5 separate regions of the Homo sapiens genome follow, and all the other regions are linked to region 2. Evidence: promoter capture Hi-C in 16 types of primary human blood cells and fetal thymus (Javierre and others, 2016). All regions are on one chromosome and are shown on one strand. Each heading gives the region's core, a stretch centred on a gene start or on the middle of the fragment in contact. The rest is flanking DNA. Distances are from core to core; before and after follow the strand shown.

What was found. Contacts are between HindIII fragments. The CHiCAGO score rates a contact against its expected background, and 5 or more counts as called.
Region 1: a fragment that was not itself captured here is called in contact with the fragment with the promoter of TMEM70 in region 2 in 11 of 17 cell types (total CD4 T cells, neutrophils, monocytes and 8 more); the score reaches 11.8 in total CD4 T cells.
Region 3: a fragment that was not itself captured here is called in contact with the fragment with the promoter of TMEM70 in region 2 in 1 of 17 cell types (M2 macrophages); the score reaches 5.5 in M2 macrophages.
Region 4: a fragment that was not itself captured here is called in contact with the fragment with the promoter of TMEM70 in region 2 in 1 of 17 cell types (naive CD8 T cells); the score reaches 5.0 in naive CD8 T cells.
Region 5: a contact is called between a fragment that was not itself captured here and the fragment with the promoter of TMEM70 in region 2, in 1 of 17 cell types (total CD4 T cells). The highest score is 6.9, in total CD4 T cells.

What each region holds. Positions count from the first base shown.
Region 1 is chr8:73,310,644-73,314,782 of GRCh38, reverse strand. All of the region lies in intron 2 of RDH10 (retinol dehydrogenase 10), which reads right to left. It overlaps RDH10-AS1 (RDH10 antisense RNA 1), which reads left to right. Exons shown (of 6, transcript NR_125388.1): 6 at 1,386-3,877. Among named protein-coding and RNA genes, the nearest start is that of RDH10, 18 kb to the right of the region's middle. The HindIII fragment of the contact is 4,885 bases long and covers 1-4,139 here.
Region 2 is chr8:73,973,710-73,978,007 of GRCh38, reverse strand. It overlaps TMEM70 (transmembrane protein 70), which reads right to left and starts at 1,813. Exons shown (of 3, transcript NM_017866.6): 1 at 1,517-1,813. The coding sequence starts at 1,726. RefSeq lists silencers at 1,465-1,514, 1,680-1,895, 1,945-2,024. The HindIII fragment of the contact is 7,182 bases long and covers 1,229-4,298 here.
Region 3 is chr8:73,458,460-73,462,962 of GRCh38, reverse strand. The region is part of intron 13 of STAU2 (staufen double-stranded RNA binding protein 2); the gene reads left to right. Among named protein-coding and RNA genes, the nearest start is that of STAU2-AS1, 41 kb to the right of the region's middle. The HindIII fragment of the contact is 5,817 bases long and covers 1-4,384 here.
Region 4 is chr8:73,271,577-73,276,092 of GRCh38, reverse strand. It overlaps a transcript of C8orf89 not described here. Among named protein-coding and RNA genes, the nearest start is that of C8orf89, 14 kb to the right of the region's middle. The HindIII fragment of the contact is 5,103 bases long and covers 64-4,516 here.
Region 5 is chr8:73,022,001-73,026,048 of GRCh38, reverse strand. It overlaps TERF1 (telomeric repeat binding factor 1), which reads right to left. Exons shown (of 10, transcript NM_017489.3): 4 at 3,747-3,833; 5 at 1,078-1,227. Among named protein-coding and RNA genes, the nearest start is that of TERF1, 15 kb to the right of the region's middle. The HindIII fragment of the contact is 7,360 bases long and covers 1-4,048 here.

The DNA of each region.
Region 1 (4,139 bases), core at 997-3,496, 660 kb after region 2:
GGCAACACTGCAATTACTATAACAATCACTCACAGCGTCAACAACCACCAAAGAGCTGCGCGGAGGGAACTGAGAGGTGAAGAAAGCTATCCAGGGCCGCTAATCAGCCTGAGATCCCAGACGGCTTGTTTCTAAAGCTGGTGTCAAACATTTACTCAGCTCTGCTCTGTGTCGGGCAAAGGCAGGCTTGGGGTAGGAGCACCCACATCAGGACCACTCGGGTTTCTTTTAAGCCTGTGCTCAGGTTCCCGCTGGAGCCCAGTACACGTGACTGAGCACGAAGGCTGTTAATCATTTCCTTTGCTGCCTGAATAGAGGCGAGCAATTACTCCAAACTCCTGCCTTATGTCTGGGGCGCATTATTAAATAAACTTTGATCAACATGAATTCTATTCCATACTTTGCAAGAAAAATGCTATAGTTGGGTGACTAGAAAGCATCACATTTTCAGGAATTTTCCCAAGTAACCTGACTAGTTTTCTTTTCTAATTACTCTTGCCCTCAACAGTCTGGTAGATGACATTTGAGATAGCACAGCATATTCTGTCCTTGACACTGCTTGACAGCACAAAGAAATCTGGCACTTTGCAATGAATTATTAATGTGCACAAATATTGTAGCATGTATGAGATAGAGACCAGCAAAAGGTGAAGTGCTAGTTGCCATGACACCAGTCAGTTCAAGCTAAGGTTCATAATCTTTAACTTTGTCTCAAAGAGTCGTCAGAAGAACATAAAGGGCAAATCTGAAACACACAGCCAAACGGCTTTGGTATAGATTAATGCCTGTGACGCATGGGTGGATCTGAGAGGGCAGCACAGATAATTTGCTGACCAATAGGACTGCTGTGTTACATCAAGTATAAGGATGGATAGATCAGGAGTTATCATCTAGTAAAGGGGTCTCTAAATGCAGTACATGTGCTCAGTCTCCAGAGTGAGCTGGTGCCCATGCTGGTTGGCAAGGTTTGCTAGATGCTAAATGTAAGTCAGAGAATTGCACTCTATTGCAGTGTCCTCTTTACTGTCTAAAAAACAGAAGAGGACATCAAGTTCTTCAGCAGGAAAATATGGTTGACTCTTGATCTAGGGGGTCTCAAAGTCAGTAACCAATATATGAAACAGGAAGTTTACAGAATTTAGAGTTGGAAGGGGCCTAGGGATTTTCTTATTTGCAAAAGAGAAAACTTTTAATAACTGACTTTGGCTATTAAATGTAGAGCTAGAACTTTGACTACCATGATTAATTTGATCACAAGATTCCAATACCATATTCTGCTACCAGCTGACAGGGTTGCTGTGTGATTAAAAAAAAAAAGGGAAGGACATTCAAATGGACACTGACATTCCTATGAAACATGCTTAACAAGTCTAATATCTCCTTAGCTCCTCAGGGTTCCTCTTCAAAGCACTGGGCACTTTGAAAGATAACTGTAAAGGTCACATTTGTAATATAAGCAAGAACTTCTTAAACAGACATGTAAGTAACTGCACATAGACGTGACATGTCATAGCTCGAGAAATCTTTTAAAGTAAAGTTTACGCCAAATTAACTTCCAACAGCTCCGACTCTCCAGACCATTCTTGGTACTCTTAATGACAGACTGTGCAGCCCAAAGCCTGCAGCTGCAGTGTCAGGACAAATTAGCCTAAAGTGGAACAAAAGTCAATGTGAAGAAATGTGGTATCCGGCAAGGTCTGACTTTTGAAATTCTGAGATTGATGACATTTTAAAGGTGTAGGTACAACAGAATGTGTTTTCCATATTTGTAAGCAATTCTAGGTTCCTGAGCACTGAGAGAAAAGCAAAGTTAATTTCTCACCGTAGGAGAAGGCCTTATTATTTTTGTGCACATACACGACTGTCCTGTGATCAAGAAAAGGCATCTTTTAAAAGAATCGTTTTGAAATGTTTATCTCTTATTTGAAATCCAAGAAAGAGTAGACATTCATTTCCAAACAGGACCATAAATCATATAACGCTGGGAGAAAGGTCAACACCACCAGCACAGCACAGTTTTCTCACATATGCTTAAGGATTTTCAGAATCTCCAAATAATAGCATGATGTAAACTTTGAATAAAAAAGAACACCATCAAGACTCCACTGAACAAAGAACGTCTGACTGGAAATGCTTACGGCACCCTTCACATGGTTGGGCAACTTTCCTCTACTGTTCCACCCCTTCTGCCTGTGCAGCTGCCAGAGTTAACTTATCTTTATCAGAATCACAAAGGAACACTCTCCTGCTTATTTACAAGGCTAAAATGACATCTGGTGGCGCTCTTCTCTGAGAACTCAGTCACTGTTCCTGGAAAATGATGCAAAAGCACAAACTTTTGCAGGGCAACTGTAGGAGTATTCTTGTGCGTGTGTGTTAAGTACTAACTGCTGATGTTGCTCAAATGTTCCGCTAGTCCCTGTAGCCTCACAATGTTTTATTCATTGTCCTGTGATCAATTCAAAAAAGCCATCTTTTATAAGAATGGTTTTGAAGTGTTTATCTTTTATTTGAACATCCAAGAAAGAGTAGACATTGACTTCCACAGGGGACCATACCTCCTATAATGCCTGAAGGTGCTTAAAATATAGTGAACTGTGTTAAAGTTAATAGGATACATCATTAGTGTGTTAAAAAATGTAAAATGGTGACATACTATCAGCTCACCTGGGTAAGGAAAATATGGCTAAAGTACCTCTAAAGGTATCTACTTATTAAGTATACTGACCAAACTTTAGACATTTTACTTCGACCACAGAAAGTATTATTTGAAAAAAAAATCTTCATTACAAAATTACATATTTAATTAGGAAGTAAAACCTAAATCTGTATTTACTAGCAATGCCAACTTTAAATATTCTAGTTGCAGCTGACAACAGAAATTCTAACATGCATATGTTGTTGCATAATAGCCTCTTTTTCCTAGTTGGGTATGTTTGTAGAGACAGAAAGGTCCCCTGACCAATTGTGCAATAGAGCCCCAAGATACTTAAGCCTGGAACTACTCTCTCAGACTTAACAAAATGTTCATCTTAATTTCTATCAGATTGGGACAAAACATTCACTCTTTAGATAATAGAGGAGAGACTAAAGAACATGTCATAATAGTCAAATTTGTGCCAATGTTAAATCTATCCCTTTAAAAACATGTATTATTGTGAGGCCGCAGGGATTAGTGCAACATTTGAACAGAATCAGCAGTTAGTACTTAACACACATGCACAAGAATACTCCTACAGTTGCCCTGCAACCAAGAAGCTAATAAAAGAGCCAGGCTTTTCAAATGAACACCTCGATGATGACACCATTAGTTATTCAGCAAAAATAAATGCTTCATTAACTTGTCTTCCCACTGTTAAAGGATAGGATGAATTTACCTCAAGGCAGCAACTCAGATATTAACGTTCCCTTACATTTTAGAGCTCACTATGCAGAAATACCAGAAATAAGGTGACTTAAAACTCAATTTGTCTGTAAAATACACTGGCCTTTGGAATCCAGAAACCCACTTGGTCCTGACTGCCAATTACTTGACCTTCCTTTTGTTACTTGACCTCTCTGGATCTTGACTAAACTCATTTGTGAGACAAGAGGAGATGTCCAAAGTTTTTTCATCTCAAATATGTTACGATTTAGATTCAACAATTATTTTTCCAATTCCTACCACACACCCCGAATACTGAGGTCACGCTGAGGTATTATTTGCCTAAGACTCTCGTAAATGACTCAATAAGGGATCAACTCCATTAGTGCAGTGGCCAGCATTGAGTGATCAGCAAAAATATCTCATTGAGTATTTCTATGATGTCACGGCTGTGCCTTTTAACATAATGTAACTTGAATGTATGCCTCTTATCTATTAAAAAAATTACAAATTATTTGAAACAATCATCCTTCTTCCGTTTTACTTGAGTCCATGGAGGCTCAATGTGTTAAACAATGAATGCTGAACAGTGTTTCTGAAATGCTGTTTTCCCTCATCTTTCCCCTGCCGGGCCCTAGATGATCAAACGAGTGTTTGATGATCTCCTTCAGCCTCAGGCCCCTCCCCCTATTTAATAACTCTTTATGGAATAATGAAAATAACCCACAAAATTGCAGCCAAATAGCTTGCCAAACAACAGGCTGTCATTGATCTC
Region 2 (4,298 bases), core at 564-3,063:
CTGACAGAATGGCTTGCCTTAATTCTAGTCACAAGTAGAAAACTGCAGAGCTGGAGTTTGTTAGCTTAGCATCCCAGCTCTCAGGTTTCTAGGTCTAGTGTGACCTTGAACAAGTAAAAATAGTAACAGTTTCTTCTACTCCACTGTTAATGACGACATCATTTCCATTCTATTTAAATGCAACACCTTTTCAAAAAATAAATACATTTAGCTGGTGTAATGGAACACGTCTATAGCCCCAGCTACTGGGGAGGCTGAGGTGGATCACTTGAGCCCAGGAGTTTAAGGCCAGCCTGGGCAACATGGCAAGACCCCATCTCTAAGAAATAAAATTTAATTTTACTAAAATAATTTAAGTAAAATACTCCGCAAACTCACATTATATTTAAAGTCCAGGCCTTTTACAAATACTGCTAAAATATTTATATGATAGTATTAAAGAGATCAAATCTTTCTCTAAAGACCTTGTAAATACCGTGTATCCCCTGGTCCTCTTATTTCTTGACAAGAAATAAAATTTGGCTGGGCACAGCGGCTCACGCCTGTAATCCCAACCCTTTGACAGGCCGAGGCAGGAGGATGATTTGAGGTCAGGAGTTTAAGACGAGCCTGGCCAACACGGTGAAACCCCGTCTCTACTAAAAATACAAAAAAAAAATCAGCCGGGGTGTGGTGGAGCGCGCCTGTAATCCCAACTACTGGGGAGGCTGAGGCAGGAGAATCGCTTGAACCCGGAAGGCGGAGGTTGCAGTGAGCCAAGATCACGTCACTGCACTCCAACCAGGGTGACAGAGCGAGACTTCACCTCCAAAAAAAAAGAAATAAAATTTACTTGAAATCCTACATCAAATTTCAAGGGAACAGAAGCGTTCCCCATACATCTGAAAATGAGTTTCACAGTGTATACACTTCAAAATGTAAAAGGCATGCCTAATTCCTCAATGCTGAAATGTAATTAGATTCCAATTTCCATTTTAAGCATTTCTTCCAAGTTTTAACCAGGTTTGCCAATCCTGATATTTTACAGAGTAGAATTAGAAGACAATTTATTCAGATCAAAATAAAAGAATTAACATCTGCATCCCCCTTTTCCCAGGGACCAAAGTAATTCTTAAAAGTACAGCCACCTCATAAAAGTAGAACAAGCTCAAAGTCAGGTTAACCTGGCTCTTTCGGTTCTATTTCCAGGTGCTGCATCCAATTTTTTGCAAATTAACACTTCTAAGCTTCTACTCAAGGGCAGAAAAGGAACTACATATAGTTGTCACCACAAACCCTCTGGATTTGGAACTACCATAAAAGTAAGCACTTTCCAGCCGTTCTCCTGGACTCGCGGAGGCTGAGGACCCCGGGGCCCTCGGCCTGCTACTTCTGCAAGCCCCGCAGAGGGGGCTCCTCCCGCGCTCCAGCCACGGACACCTGGGAGAGGTCGCGAAGAGCCGCTGGGGCTCCCCAGGCCCGACACGACGCCCGCCCTCCCCGCCTCACTTGGGACACCAGACCTCGGACGCCCTACCTGCGCTCGACCCGGACGCCGGAGAAGGCGCGCGGCTCCCGAAGGCCCCGTACTCCAGCCGGCTACCGGCCCCGAAGGCCCGCTGCTGGAGGACGCCCGGGAGACAGAGGCCCGGGGACCTCGGAGCGCGGCGGCCGCACACAATGCAGTCCTCCTTCCGCAGAGAGGCAGTTCGACCGCCCACGGGCTGCCCAACGCCAGAAACAGCATCACGCGGGTGACGAGCGGCTGCGGACGCCCCAGCTGCACGAGTCCACGACTGCGAGACACGGCTTCCCACCCGACTGCCGCACAAGTGGCGCATGCCCAGCCCGGGACGCCTGACTGGCAGCTGGGCTGCCTGCGCGTGCGCAGAATCTGCCGCCCGCCTGCCGCCCGCCTGCCGCCCGCCTGCCGCCCGCCTGCCGCCCGCCTGCCGCCCGCCTGCCGCCCGCCTGCCGCCTTCCCGGCCGCGCGCGTTATCCGCCAGCTGAGCTGGGAGCCCGCCGCTCTGTCCTTGGCTCAGCGGCTCCTCCTTCCTAGAATTTTACCTTCTTTATAACAGTGTGGAGGGGCAGAGGGCTGTACGAGAATGACAATGCCCAGAAGCCAGGGTTAAATATTTTTTTTTCTCGTGGACGACATCACTAAAAACTGTTTCCTTTGCGGAAAATGATTCTAGCCTGTTGGCACAGAAGAAAGAATATACGATTTGAACAAAAATGAGTGATAACTTAATTGAATCATCGGGTTGGAGGAAAATAAATGGAATTGTTCATGTAATATTGATAGGTGTTACCAGATTTGTCTTCGGAAATCATTCACATCCATATACACATTGATTCATTACTTGTTAAAGAGGTACTGAATCTATTGCCAGGACTGAGCTAGGAGCAGAGGATACAAAATACTAGATTAAACTGGGAATCCACAGTGCTTAAACAGTGGAGGAAAATACCTGAAAATTGGCTAGAATATAATGTAATACAATTGAGACACCGCAATATACAAAATGTGGCTGGCCGTGGTGGCTTACACCTGTAATCCCAGCGCTTTGGGAGGTTTAGGCAGGAAGATCTCTTGAGGCCAGGAGTTTGAGACCAGCCTGAGCAATACAGGGAGACCCCGTCTCTACAAAAAAAAAAAAAAAAAAAAAACCTAAAACAAAAATAAGCCACACATGGTAAGTGTGTGCCTGTGGTCCCAGCTACCCAGGAGGCTGACATGGTAGGATTGCTTGAGCCCAAAGTCGAGGCTTCAGTGAGCCAAGACCACACTACTGCACTCCAGCCTGGACCACAAAGTGACACCGTGTCTCAAAAAAAAGAACAAACAAATGCCACAGAAGTACAAAGAAGAACATGATTAATTTTGCCTCAGAATGTCTTCAGACTGGCTTCACATTTAGCTCAGTCTTGAAGGATGAGCATCTTAGTAATAGAAACACACTTTTGTTTACCACTGCAGAACTATACATGTTTTTGATTTGACATGTTATTTGCACCGGAGAGGAACAAATTCATAGTCTAAAATAATGTGTGGCCAGGGGCGGGAGCTCACGCCTGCAATTCCAATACTACGTGGAGGCCCAGGTGAGAGGATCACTTGATTCCAGGAGTTTGAGACCAGCCTGGGCAACAAAGTGAGACCCTGTCTCTACAAAAAATTTTTAAATTAGCTGGGCATGGTGGCACCTGCCTGTAGTCCCAGCTACTTGGGAGGCTGAGGTGGAAGGATCACTTGAGCCCAAGAGGTTGAGGCTGCAGTGAGCCCTGATTGCACCACTGCACTGAGTGACACAGCTAGACCCTGTCTCAAAAATAAAAATAAAAATAAATCAATAGAATATGATCATGTTGGCAACTCCAAATACTGTCTATTGGGGGGAGTATTCAGAAGGAGATAATGATAATACCTCTATATGGATAACTTTATTTTATAAAAAGTTAGCTTCTACTTACATTTTGTTTATTTTTATTTTAATATTTGTTTTAATAGTAGAGATGGAGTTTCACCATATAGCCCAGGTTGGTCTCAAACTCCTGAGGCTCAAGCTATCCGCCCACCTCAGCCTCCCAAAGTGCTGGAATTACAAGGGTGAGCCACTGTGCCCACCTTTTATTTTGTTTTTGAGACAGGGTCTTGCTCTGTCGCCCAGGCTGGAGTGCAGTGGCACCATCATAGCTCACTGCAGCCTTGACCTCCCAGGCTCAAGTGTTCCTCTCACTTCAGCCTCCCAAGTACCTGGGACTACAGGCCACGTCACCATGCCCAGCTAATTTTTGTATTTTTAGTGGATACAGGGTTTCCTTTTGTTGCCCAGGCTGGTCTTGAGCTCCTGGAATCAAGGGATCCTCCCGCCTGGGCCTCCCAAAGTGTCACAGAACCTGAGCTACCACACCTGGCCTATTTACATTTTAAAAACTCTTCTGTTTAGGGTAATTCACTCACAATCAATATTCACTCTATTATTTTGCTGATATATTTAAAATTTTCACATAAAAATGTTTTTCTTAACTATATTAAGAGAACTCAAATTTTTTATCTTCTGTAAAGCTGTTCCCCCTACAAATACTGTAAGTAAATGAAAATAAAAACTTTTGTTTGATCTATTTCTCAAAATTTCTAAATAGATAAAATCAGATTATAGTCTGAAAACTCTGTACCATAGATTTACATAGAATTGTTATTTATGTTAGATGGATTTTCCAGTTCCAGTAAGTTAGAGACATTTGTTAAATATAAACTAATGGGATTTTAGAATGATTTTAAGGATGTTTTTAGGCCGCGCGCAGTGGCTCAC
Region 3 (4,503 bases), core at 227-2,726, 510 kb after region 2:
AGAAGTCATTATTCTGCAAAAACATGTTCAGAGAAGGTTTCTTCACCATCATTGGCTACACCCTCTGGAATCCCATAGTCTTTGCTGTGTATACTCTAAAGGCACTCAAAGAAGTTGTCTTTTTTTAATACTAGATATCATAAAGACATTAAATTTGACTAACACATATTTTGGCATATCACAATATAGGCAAGGCTTGAAGTGCATAGATGCAGCAGGAATAAGGAAAATCTTTTACATATTTTTTAGGTTTATAATGTTTTATTGGCCAGCTGTGGTGGTTCGCGCCTGTAATCCCAGCACCTTGGGAGGCCTGGCAGGAGGATTGCTTGAGCCCAGGAGTTCAAGACCATCCTGGGCAACATGGGGAGACCCTTTCTCTATAAAAAAAATACAAAAATTAGCTGGGCATAGTAGTGCATGTCTGTGGTCCCAGCTACTTGGAGGGCTGAGGTGGGAGAACAGCTTGAGCTCAGGAGGGGGAGGTTGCAGTGGGCCATGATCATGCCACTAAAGTCCAGCCTGGGTGACAGAGCGAGACCCTGTCAAAAAAATAAAATAGGCCAGGTGTGGTGGCTCACACCTTTAATCCCAGCACTTTGGGAGGCCAAGGCGGGTGGATCTTCTGAGGTCAGGAGTTCAAGACCAGCCTGGCCAACATGCCAACATGGGAAAACCCTGTCTCTATTAAAAAAAAAGAAAAAAAAATACAAAAATTAGCTGGGCGTGGTGGCAGGCACCTGTAATCCCAGCTACTCAGGAAGCTGAGGCAGGAGAATTGCTTGAACCCAGGAGGTGGAGGTTGCAATGATCCAAGATCATGCCACTGCAGTCCATCCTAGGTGACAAAAGCAAAACTCTGCCTCAAAAAAACAAATAAATAAGTAAATAAAAATAAAATAGGTGAAATTTTTTTACCGATAGATGTGAACAAAAAGTCATTCTATATGGGGGATAATAAGAGAAAAGATGGAGGGATGGGGTGATGTGGCAGGCATGGCTTAGGTAATCAAAGCAGACAAAGAAGCAGGAAGATCGGATTGACAAAGGTGAAGAGCCTGGGCAGAGCTGCTGAGAACCAGACAGCTGGGGCCCTGGGTGTGGCCACACGGCTGGGCAGAGTCCCAAGTGCAGAGTTCTTGGGGACTGTCCAGTTCCATCCCTGCAGGCTCTGAGTTTGAGTTCCCCTACATTCCACAGATTGGTGAAAGCCCGCGGTTGCGTTCCTGCCTGGCTTCTGCTTCTCCCCACCTCATTCTCTCCCTCCTACACAGTCTCCATCCTCCTCCTACTTGCTGCCGTGCTTGTGCTTGTGCTCTCTGTTGGCCTCTTTGCTGCCACCAGCATGACATGATGCAAGTGGTATCCTCTCCTTAGCATGTGCATTTAATACATAGAAGAAATGGTGTGGAGCTTCCAAAGTCACCTCATATTTGCCATGTTACTTATGACTCTACAAGGTTTATGATTGTCTTTCAAACCACAGAGGATGGCTTCCACTGCTTATCCAATAAAGCATAGCTCAGGTATCATTTCCTGTATTACTCCTCTGAGCCCCATCTTCCACCTACCCACTTACTAAGGCTGGAATAATTATTACTCCTTTGAAACTAGCCCTTACTAGGAAATACTCAGATGGCCTGTAGTGTTTTCCTTCCCACTAGCTCATGAGCTGTTTTTGATCTGTCGTGTATATCTGTGTAATAGTGAGAGATATTATGTCCTGCACATCTCCTGTGTGCCAAGCACTCTGCTAAATACTTTGTGTGCATTGTCTCATTTGAGGATAGTCATTGAAGAAACTGAGACTTAGAGGGGTAAAGTAACTTCCCCTAAGTCTCCTAGCCAGGTTTCAGGCCAGGTTGGTCTGACTCTACAGCCTGTATCACCACCCACTACCCAATACATTCGAAAGAACTTGGCACACAGTTACCCAATGTATGTTGGGTGAACTCAACTGAAAGAAGGAAAATAGTGTGGAGAGAGGAGAGGAGCAGGCACACCCCAGAAACAGAAGCTCAGAGCTACAGTTCAGGCTCTCGGTCTTAAGCTGGTTCTTGTGTCAATGGCTAAACCATTGGAATGAATTGCTCTCAGAAGCGTATGAGAAATCTGAAGGATGTGACCAACCTACCATAAGATAATGTTAGGACAATCTTAGAGCTCCTTGTGACTTTGGTTTGAAGAATATATATAAAAATAAAGCTGTGTATAGTGTCTGGCACTAAATAATTATGGCTGTCATTCCAGAAGCAACTGATAATGCCTCTGTTGTCACCAAAATGGAGACCTCCAAAGCAACTAGAGAATGCACAAGACAGCTCAAGTCTAGAAGACCATGGATCTAAGAGTACTCAGAGCCTTAGCAGAGAACAAGTCATCCCTGCCACTTAGGCATTTTCCTCAAAAGGCCAATGTAATAATTATTTAGCCATCCTTTACCTCTGTTGGGTACTCACATCAATTTCCAGGAAAGGTGACAAGGAGTTTTTAAGCTAGATGTCGTCAAATGTGTTTAAACTTGTTCAAAACCTCTCTCGTCCCCTGTAGTAATTCACCATACATGTTTAACAAGAATTAAGAGCCCCCAAGTATTGAATCAGTAATTTGTGCTGTCTGTCAAATAATGTCTCTCTTCTAACCTGGAACAGATGACCTTGCCCAAACCACTTTAGTCAAAACAACAACAATGCCCTCCTGCCCCCATTTTCTTCTAGTTTTTGTTTGATTAAATATAGAGACCACAGCTATTCCGTAGCATCGAAGAGGCTAGAAGGAATGTTTTGCCAGAAACATAACTTGTCAGGTACCTCAGGCTAAGACCCTGGGAATCTTAAGAAGATACAGATACATAACTTGAATTGCATCTGAGCTTGGGTTGGCAGCCACTGCTGAGTAGAGGGAGAGGGTGAAGTGAGATGTGCTGACCTATATGAATGGTCTAATAGAAGGGGAATGATCCAATTAAGCACTGCCCTAGATTCCTCCTGCAGCATTCCTCTGATCTCCATTGTGTATTCACGGCTGGGGCTGGGGACGCAGGAGGCCCCAAGAGTCAAAGGAGCCGTGCCCGATAGGAGTTGCTCCTTCCAGAGACAGTGGCTGCATTGAGCAGATGATGCGGAACCAAGGACAAGTATTCCTGAAATATGTTTTGAAAATTCCTATTGAATGCATATATTCAGCAGCATACCAGGGCCCTTAGTAACAGCCCGTTGGGTGTTGTGACAACAGCGTGGGTGTGATGACAGCAGCATGTGTGGGATGTGACGATATGTGGAGGCGGAGCTGCGTGAGCTTGAGGTTGGGTTTTGATTTCAGTGGGAGCTCTGCACATGGTAGGGCTGCTGGTTGAGGTCTTCGCGGAGGGGATCACCTTAACGAGAGGCGACTTCACACAGGAGGCCCCCCTTCCTGACAGGGTGAAGGGTAAAAATGCAGCTCCAGAAACCAGAGTGCTTCCAACTATTTAAAGTTCCCCTTTTAAAAAGTTTGGACATTCAAGATGGCTCTCAGAATGTATTTAGGGGTTTCTGATTTCTATATGGAAAATGTATTCTCAAAGGCTATTTCTATAGACTGGAAAAATATGGCTTTTTTGGTGCAAATCTAATAATAAAGCCTATCTGAAATAGTTCATATTATCTGTATTCACTAGGAATTTATTCTTCATGTTAGAAGAGGAGCTTGGTTTCTTGGCTTCTCTTCTGTGACTATACACTCTCAAAGTAGGAGCACCCTTTAAATGTTATTATTCTTTTTCAAATTATGTCTCTGCATTTACCTTAGTAATATAAAAACCTTGGCAAGTTAACACCAAAACAGCAGCCGTTAGTTGTTAAAGAAAAATGAATATAGGAAAGTTCTTTTTGAAAAAAATCCTTAAGATGAAAATGTGATTACTTTCATGAAAGTAGGCTTCCATTCGATAAAATAATTTTGTCAAATCATTTAGTCATTGTAGGGAGTTGGAATGATTTAAATGTTTTATAATGCACTGTTGTTTTCCACGAAACTCTAGTGTGGCCCTGTTCCCTGGCCACAGGAATGTAAGAACTTCTTGGCAAATACCCTGACTAGGATCGGATGGGGCAATGTATAATTAATGTCAAGTGTTACTGCCCTTCTCCAGTGCCACCCACCCACTGACCAGCATCAACTTCTTCCTGTTCTTTCTGTATTCAGAGCTTGGTTTATACCACTTTGGTTCCAAATATATCTGGATAAAATGCTGATTTCCTCTTTTGAGAATATACCTGACAAGGATCAGATTCATGTAACAAGAGGTAACTTTCTCATATCTTTGAATGGGTTCAGAATAAACCAACATTTTTTGCAGTTAGAGAAAATATTCAAGTTAGTGAATTTTTTTTTAAAAGAAGCTTCTACACTGTAGCTACTTTTGGGTGATTTTTGTTGTTGTTCTCAGTTTTTTAGCTTTCTCCTTGAGCCTTGCTTCACAAGTATTGGGAGAGAATGTCTGGCAACTGTTACTGAAACTGC
Region 4 (4,516 bases), core at 1,366-3,865, 700 kb after region 2:
GAACCCTTTCTCAGGAAGCTTCATAAAACAAGGGAGCGAACAAAAACCAAACAGAAATAAGCTTATATGCACACATAAATGCATATATAATTTTTAGAAATTAAGGTAATGTGATAATGGCTCAGGGGTAGTTAATAAGATCAGAGAAACAGTATCAAAATCAGACTCAAATATTAGGGGATCTTGGCTTTATCTTTTTGTCTTAGAGTAGGAAAGAGGATTTCTTCAATATGATATTATAGAAAAATAGACAAATTTGACTATATCAAAATTTAAAGTTTCTGATAAACTAAAAGACATAAACAGGTTAAAAATAAACTAATATTGGGAGAGATATTTGCAACATATATAACATATAAAGAATTAGTACTCACCAAATATAAAGCACTACAAATAAGAATAAAACAAAACCCTGTACAAAAATGGGGAAAGCATAGAAATAGGCATTTCACAGAAGAGGAAACCTAAGTGGCAAATAAACACTTTTAGGGAAGTAAAAATTAACAAGGTACCATTTAACATCCAAAGATTAGCAAAAATTAAAATAGCTTAATTGGCAGGGTACAGTGGCTCATGCCTGTAATTCCAGCACTTTGGGAGGCTGAGGTGGGTTGATCACTTGAGGTCAGGAGTTTGAGACCCGCCTGGCCGACATGGTGAAAACCTGTCTGTACTAAAAATACAAAATGTTAGCCAGGTGTGGTGGGGCATGTCTGTAATTCCAGCTACTCCGGAGGCTGAGACAGGAGAGTTGCTTGAACCTGGGAGCCAGGGGTTGCAGTGAGCTGAGATCAAGCCACTGCATTCCAGCCTGGGTGACAGCAAGACTATGTCTCAAAAAAAAAAAAAAAAAAAAAAAAAGAACTATTACAAGTGTACATAAGAATGTGGGTAAACAAAAATTATGGGAATACAGGTAGAGATAACCACTTATTCAGTATAAATTAAGATTAGTACATGGAGAATAATCTATTAGTAGTAAGTAAAGTTAAATATCTGCACATCTTACAAACCAGTGAATCCAATTTTAGGTATATTGCCCTGCAGAAACACACATGTGTATTAGGAGTCATTTACAAAGATATTAACTGTCATATTGTTTGTAATATTAGAAAATTCTAAACAATTCACCTTACCACTTGTAGGAGGATGGATAATTACATATTCATATAATCGATATGATATAGACAGCAGCTAAAATCAATAAACTAAATCTATATGTACACTCAATCTCAGTCTCATGTGACTCAATCTCAATGACTCAATCTCGAGTGAAAAAAAGTTGCAGAAGATATGTGTAACTTATTTATGTAAAACTAATAAGATATCAAACAACTCAGTATCTTTTCTCCTATACCTACGTGCAGTTAAAATATAAAAGCAGACTTCAAGGATTCACACCAAATTTATGAGAGTGGTTGCTTCCGGAAAAGGAGCATGATGGGGGATGGAAAAATATTTGCTGTCTTTCCCTTAAAAACATAGGACGCAAACATGCAAATTCTTAAATTTTGCTAATATTTAAGCAATATTAGCATATATTTAGCATAATGTTAGGGTGATAGGGAAACAAATGTTACATTTCTCTCTGTACCAATGCATTTTTTAAAGCAAACAAAAGATAACCTAAAAAAGATGAAATGGCCAGGTGCGGTGGCTCACACTTGTAATCCCAGCACTTTGGGAGGCCGAGGTGGGCGGATCACAAGGTCAGGAGGTTGAGACCATCCTGGCTAACACGGTGAAACCCCATCTCTACTAAAAATACAAAAAATTAGCCAGGCGTGGTGGCGGGTGCCTGTAGTCCCAGCTACTCGGGAGGCTGTCAGGAGAAGGGCGTGAACCCGGGAGGCGGAGCTTACAGTGAGCTGAGATCGCGCCACTGCACTCCAGCCTGGGCGACAGAGCAAGATTCCATCTCAAAAAAAAAAGATGAAATATGGTCTGCTGTATACTAAATAATATAGTGTCAGGTAAGCACCTGTCTCCCCTCACCCAAAAAAAGTCCTTTTGACAAGCAATATAATATAAAAGAGAAAATAGTTAACAGTAATCTCAAGGTGGTAAAAAAAATTAGATGAACGTTTCAGAAAAGCATAATTTGGATGATATATCATTACAAAATATAACATTTTGACCTTTTAATGGTATTTCTTAGTTCTATTTAGTAGTTTTAAGAGTCATAAAATATACTTAACTAAGAAATAAAATAATTAGAATACATTCCATATAGTTACCAAGGTTAAGCAAGATAAACAGTTGGATATTAAGAAGACCATCTTATGTATCAATCTCCCATTTAAATTTTGAAGTTTGAAGTATCTTTCAGAAAAAAAAAAAAAAACTGGCATCACCAACAAAAAAGCACCACAAGTTCTCACTCTGGGCGCAGACTTCACGTGGAACTGACAGCCTGGGCCCCAGGCTTCAGGCTTCACTGGGGACCGCCTCTTTCCACCTAGGAGCCTGACTCCTGCCGCCATCAACCTGCCGTCCATGGTGCCCATGGCGCCCAGGCTATTCATGCAGAGGGGTTCCTGCAGGGCCAAACTGAGCTGCCCTCAGCCCCACCTCGGCCTCCCTCCTGTGCTCATCAGTGACCACAGTCTGGAGAGGGCCAAGGTGGCAGGCGGCTGGCATGTTAGTGCCTCCCTGAGCGAGCACACGCCCAGCCAGGTTGTGACAGTGCCTGGGCTCGGCCATAACTTTGCTCTAAAATCAGAGTGGGCACTGGGAGCTGGGAGAGGCCAGGCAGGGGAAGCAAGCACTTTGAAGCCTACAGAGGCAAGTGGTTTCCGGGGCCCTGAGAGTGCAGGGATGCCCAGGTCTGCAGCCATGGCTGGGTGGCTGCAGCTGTGCCCAGGAACATGGGACTTTTGCCCCGCCACTCAGAAACGGGCACGGCTTCTGCCTGTTCCTCGCTCCCACTGGCTCCATGGAGCATGCAGCCCTGGCTGCACCTCCCCCACTGCAACTGGCATCATGGCAATGACCACTCCAGGCCGGTTGCCGCTGCCATCAGAAGTTTTGAACAAAATTCTGAAAACTTTTGAGGCTCCTAATTTCTCTGATTTTACTTACCTTTTTCCTTGGCATTATAGGAGAGAGATTAAGGGCATCATCTTTGCAGTTGGGAAGGTGGCCTGAGTTAGATTTCCATTTCAAACAGTTAGTAGCTATTGGATTTTGTTATCTAAACCCCAGGTTTCTCAATGTAAAATAGAGATGATAATAATAATAGTGCCATCCTCCAAGGTAGGCTCAATATTTACACTTTACAAAAATTAAGCAGCCATAAAAAAATGATGAGTTCATGTCTTTTGTAGGGACATGGATGAAGCTGGAAACCATCATTCTCAGCAAACTATCGCAAGGACAAAAAACCAAACACTGCATGTTCTCACTCATAGGTGGGAATTGAACAATGAGAACACTTGGACACAGGAAGGGGAACATCACACACCGGGGCCTATCATGGGGTGGGGAGAGGGGGGAGGGATAGCATTAGGAGATATACCTAATGTAAATGACGAGTTAATGGGTGCAGCACACCAACACGGCACATGTATACATATATAATAAACCTGCACGTTGTGCACATGTACCCTAGAACTTAAAGTATAATAAAAATATATATATATTAAAAAAAAGAATTAAGTGGGCTGATATAATGTGCATGTCATAGTGCTTGGTACAGTGAGTATTCAAGGAATGTTAGATGTTTTAATTTTATTATGATTACAATAATAAGTATATTAAGCCCTGATTAGGTCCTTTCACAAATGGGCATAGAAATGGACAATTTTCCTGAGTTAACTGGTCAAAGGTGGGAGAGAGGAGAAAGGAAAAAGGAACTTAGAAAATGTTTCTGAATCTGCAAGAAAGATATACTTCTCTCATTAGGAATTAATTGAATTGCCAGTGGTAAAGGGGGAAAAGGTGGAGATCTAAGTTTGTAGTTTCACCCTGAAAGGAAAGAGGAAGAGGCATTGAGTCAAGCTATACATCCCCTACCCCAGCCATTAGTCGATTCTTGGCCTATAATAATAATCATGATGATTATGATAATAATTGCAGCTATCATTTCTTTCTGTGCTTAAGAAGGATCCCTTACTGTGGTCTGAAATGAAGATTCTTGCTTGAGAATTAAAGCAGTGTACTAGGTTATATGGTTTGGCTCTGTGTCCCCGTCCAAATCTCATCTTGAATTGTTCTCCTATAATTCCCACATGTTGTGGGAGGGACCTGGTGGGAGATAATTGAATCATGGGAGTGGTTTCCCCCCTCATGATTGTGAGGCCTCTCCAGCCACATGGAATTGTAAGCCCAATAATCCTCTTTCTTGTGTAAATTGCACAGTCTCGGGTGTCTTTATCAGCAGCATGAAAATGGACTAATACACTAGGCATTTAGTTAGGTGCTGTCTTAGTATGTTTAGTGTTGCTATAAAAGAATACCTGAGGCTGGGTAATTTATAAAGGAAAGTGGTTTATTTCACTCATGTCTCTGCAAGCTG
Region 5 (4,048 bases), core at 872-3,371, 950 kb after region 2:
ATTTTTCTATTTTTTCGGTAGAGATGGGGTTTTGCCATGTTGCCCAGGCTGGTCTCAAACTCCTGGGATCAAGCGATCTACCCATTTCGGCCTCCCAAAGTGCTGGGATTACAGGCATGAGCCACTGCGCCTGACCAGAAATGTCTTTTTTTTGAGACAGGGTCTCATTTTGTCACCCAGGCTGGAGTGCAGTGGCTCAACCTCAGCTCACTACAGCCTCAACTCCCCAAAGTAGCTGGGACTACAGGTGTATGCCACCATGCCCAGCTTTTTTTTTTTTTTTTTTTTTTTTTTGAGACAGAGTCTCACTGTCGCCCAGGCTGGAGTGCAGTGGCGCAATCTCAGCTCACTGCAAGCTCTGCCTCCCAGGTTCATGCCATTCTCCTGCTTCAGCCTCCTGAGTAGCTGGGACTACAGGCACCTGCCACCACACCCAGCTAATTTTTTTGTATTTTCTTAGGAGAGACGGGGTTTCACCATGTTAGCCACCTGACCGTGTGATCCGCCTGACCGTGTGATTCACCTGCCTTGGCCTCCCAAAGTGCTGGGATTACAGGCGTGAGCCACCGCGCCCGGCCCAGCTAATTTTTTTGTATTTTTTTGTAGATAAGGGGTTTCACCATGTCGCCCAGGCTAGTCTCGAACTCCTGAAACTTGGCCTCCCAAAGTGCTAGCATTACAGGCATGAGCCACCGCGCCTGGCCTAGAAAAATTTTAAAAGGCCCTTCTTTAATACAATTCTATTTTTCCCCAAAAATATGTTTAAAAAGTCTTTAAAATTTACTTAAATTAAAATATTTGCTTTTGCCTATTTCTTATTTTTAATTCATTCTAAGTTTTCCCTTCAACTTTTTCTTTTGAAAATTTCCCCAAACTAATTTTGAAAAGTTACAAAAGTACATATCACTCATAAATCTTTTAATTAGGTCCACAAAATGTAACATTTTACCACACCTTTCTACAAAACCACAATGAAAAATTCTGATTAATTTTAAAGGATTTCTATTTCAAGTATTCTCCTTTATTATAACGTTTCCTTTAAGTCTATTATTAGTCACTCTTGAATAATATGTATACCTTCATTAGAAAGGTTGATGATTTTTCACTTAGCACATAATTCACATAACTCTTAATTTTCTCCATCATGTGGTTGTAGCTGAAGTGTTGAAAAAAGGAATGAAATGTATCTTTCTGAGAGATTATCATAAGCAATTTGCTTTTGAAAGGCTAAAGAAAACAGAAGAAATATATTAACATAAATCACACAAAGTTACAGATACAACGATTTTTGTCACATATTATTTAATTGAAAAGAAATCACTTTACAAACTCAAGAGACACAGATATTTTTAAAATTAAGTTTTAAATGGCATGCCAATGTACCTTTTTCTGACTTCTTCTGGCCTCTCCTCATTTTAAAAAATATTTTACATTTTAGACAGATTCAAAAAGATATGTATTATAAACCAGAGTATCCATTACCCAGTTTCAGAAATAAAACATAATCAATATGGTTAAAATCCCTGTTTACTACCATAATCTGATTGTATTCCCTTTCCTCTCCTAACTGTAACCATTACCCTGAATTTAGAATTCACCATTCCCAGGAATTCCTTTACTTGCACTACATATGTATGTATCCACAAATATGTAGCATTGCTTAGCATGGTTTTAACTCTACAAATAGTGTTGTACGATGCGTATTCTTTTGAAACTTGCTATATTTCACTCAACTCTATGTTTACAACATTTATCCATGCTGATTTGATATTCCTAGAAGTAGTTATTTTTGCCATTGTAAAGTACTACACTGATCAAAAACATCACTTATTCATCCATTCTTCATGCCTATTGAGGGATTTAGGCTACTTGCAATTATTGTATCGCTCTTCAACATTTTTCTACATTATCTTCTGTGCATTGTATGTGTTTTTCTTGGACAGTAGCTTTTTCAATGCTGGCTGCACAATAAAAAAAGTAGAACTTTAAAAAAATTCTTAGGCTCAATCCCAGAGCAACTGTCTCAGGAAGGCCTTGGTTTTTTGTTGCCTTTAAACTTCATGGCTTTTAAAATATGCAGTTAAAAGTGAAACCAGCTATTCTAAGGTATTGTCTAGAAGTGGAATTGCTGGAATGCATGCTTAAAATATTTTGCTAAAATGATCTCCCAAAGAAGTACCAATTTACAGTCTTGAAAGGAAGTTATGGCAGGCAGTACAATCATTTCTCAATTTGTTGAGACAACTGTTGATATTCTAAGACATTTTAATTGATGCCAGTCTGAGGCATGGAAAGTGGTATTTCAATATAGTACTTAATATTGCCCTAATGAGGCAACATTAATACTAGTGAGGTCAAGTACTTATCTTAACCTCTTAATATTTCCTGGCCATTAAGTTTTCCTCTTCTGGGAGGTATAAGCAGAGTAGAATTTTCAGTAGTCTCATAGTGCTATGGAGAAAATATTAAGGGTAGAAAACCCAACAGACATATCAGGCTATTGGCTGAAATTTCTGGAGGGTTATACCCCAGGTACAGGGTTAAATTAGAGATAGACAAAGCCTTGCCAAAACTGCCCAACCTACTCTCTACTAGGCCCAGGTTCCTTACTGGATTAAGGTAGTCACTCTCCAACTCTATCTACTAACATTATCAAGGGAAGGTGCTCAATCTGATTATTCATCAGGGAAACAAATTAAAATCCAACAGGATAGCACTACATATTTGCCTGAATGGCTAAAATGAAAACCCAGATACAAGGTGTGTGGAGCAACTAGAATTCTTTCACACTACTGGAGGAACTGACATAACTACTTTGGAGAACAGTTTGGCAATATCTACTAAAACTGAGTATGTACACATCTTATGACTAATCAGTTCTACTCTTCATATAAACCCAAAAGAAATGCATATATTTGTTCCACAAAATGTATGGGGGAAAAAATTACACCTGTACTGAACACATACAGATTTTTTGTATCTTTTTGTTCCTAAACAGTACAACTATTTACATTGTGTAAGTTATTATACATAATCTAGAGATGATTTAAACTATACAGGAGGATGTACATATGTTATATGCAAATACTATACTATTTTATTATTTATTTATTTTTAGAGACAGCGTCTCTCTCTGTTGCTTAGGCTGGAGCGCAGTGGCAGCGTTATAGCTCACTGCAGCCTTGACTTCCTAGGCTCAAGCAATCTTCCCACCTCAGGACTACAGTATTGCGCCACCACACCTGGCTAATTTTTAATTTTTTTGTAGAGAACAGGGTCTCGCTGTGTTGCCCAGGCTGCTCTTGAACTACTGACCTCAAATGATCCTCCTGCTTCAGCCTCCTAAAGTACTGGTATTATAGGCATGAGCTATTGCACCGGGCCTCTTTTTACTTTTTTAATATGACTACTGGAAAATTGTATTTATTTTTCATTATTTATTATTCCTTCTTTTTGGAGAGATGAGGATCTCTCCATGTTGCCCAGGCTGGTCTCGAATGCCTGAGCTCAAGAGATCCTCCCACCTCAGCCTCCCAAAGTGCTGGAATTATAGGTGTAAGCTACTGCGTCCAGCTTATTAGAAAATTTTAAATCACATATGTGACTTGCGTAGTTTTTCTGTTGCACGGTATTATTCTATACTGTTTAAAAGATAAAGCATTTCTTTTCTCCTCCAATTTTCTTTCAGTTTTCCTCACTCTACATAAACACTTCTAAAATTCTATGGTTTTAATTTAAATAATTACCATATGAGAATTTGGATCACCAAATATTCTTTCAAAGACTTCTTCTGCTTCTTTAAAGTTGCCATTTTCCATACAAACAGCTATAGCCTAAAAGATGAAAAATACCAACCTTAGACTGCGTTTATAAATACCCAATAGTTATTTAATTATTAAGATAACTCAGGTAAGTCTGAAATCCTCTGTTGAGAACATTTTTATGTAGCTTAATAATTTTAATTTGATAAAAGATATAAAATTATTTTTCAAAGACAAAATAAGTGTCGCTTGAAATGACATGAAAAATTTGCACTGGTCCCATGCAC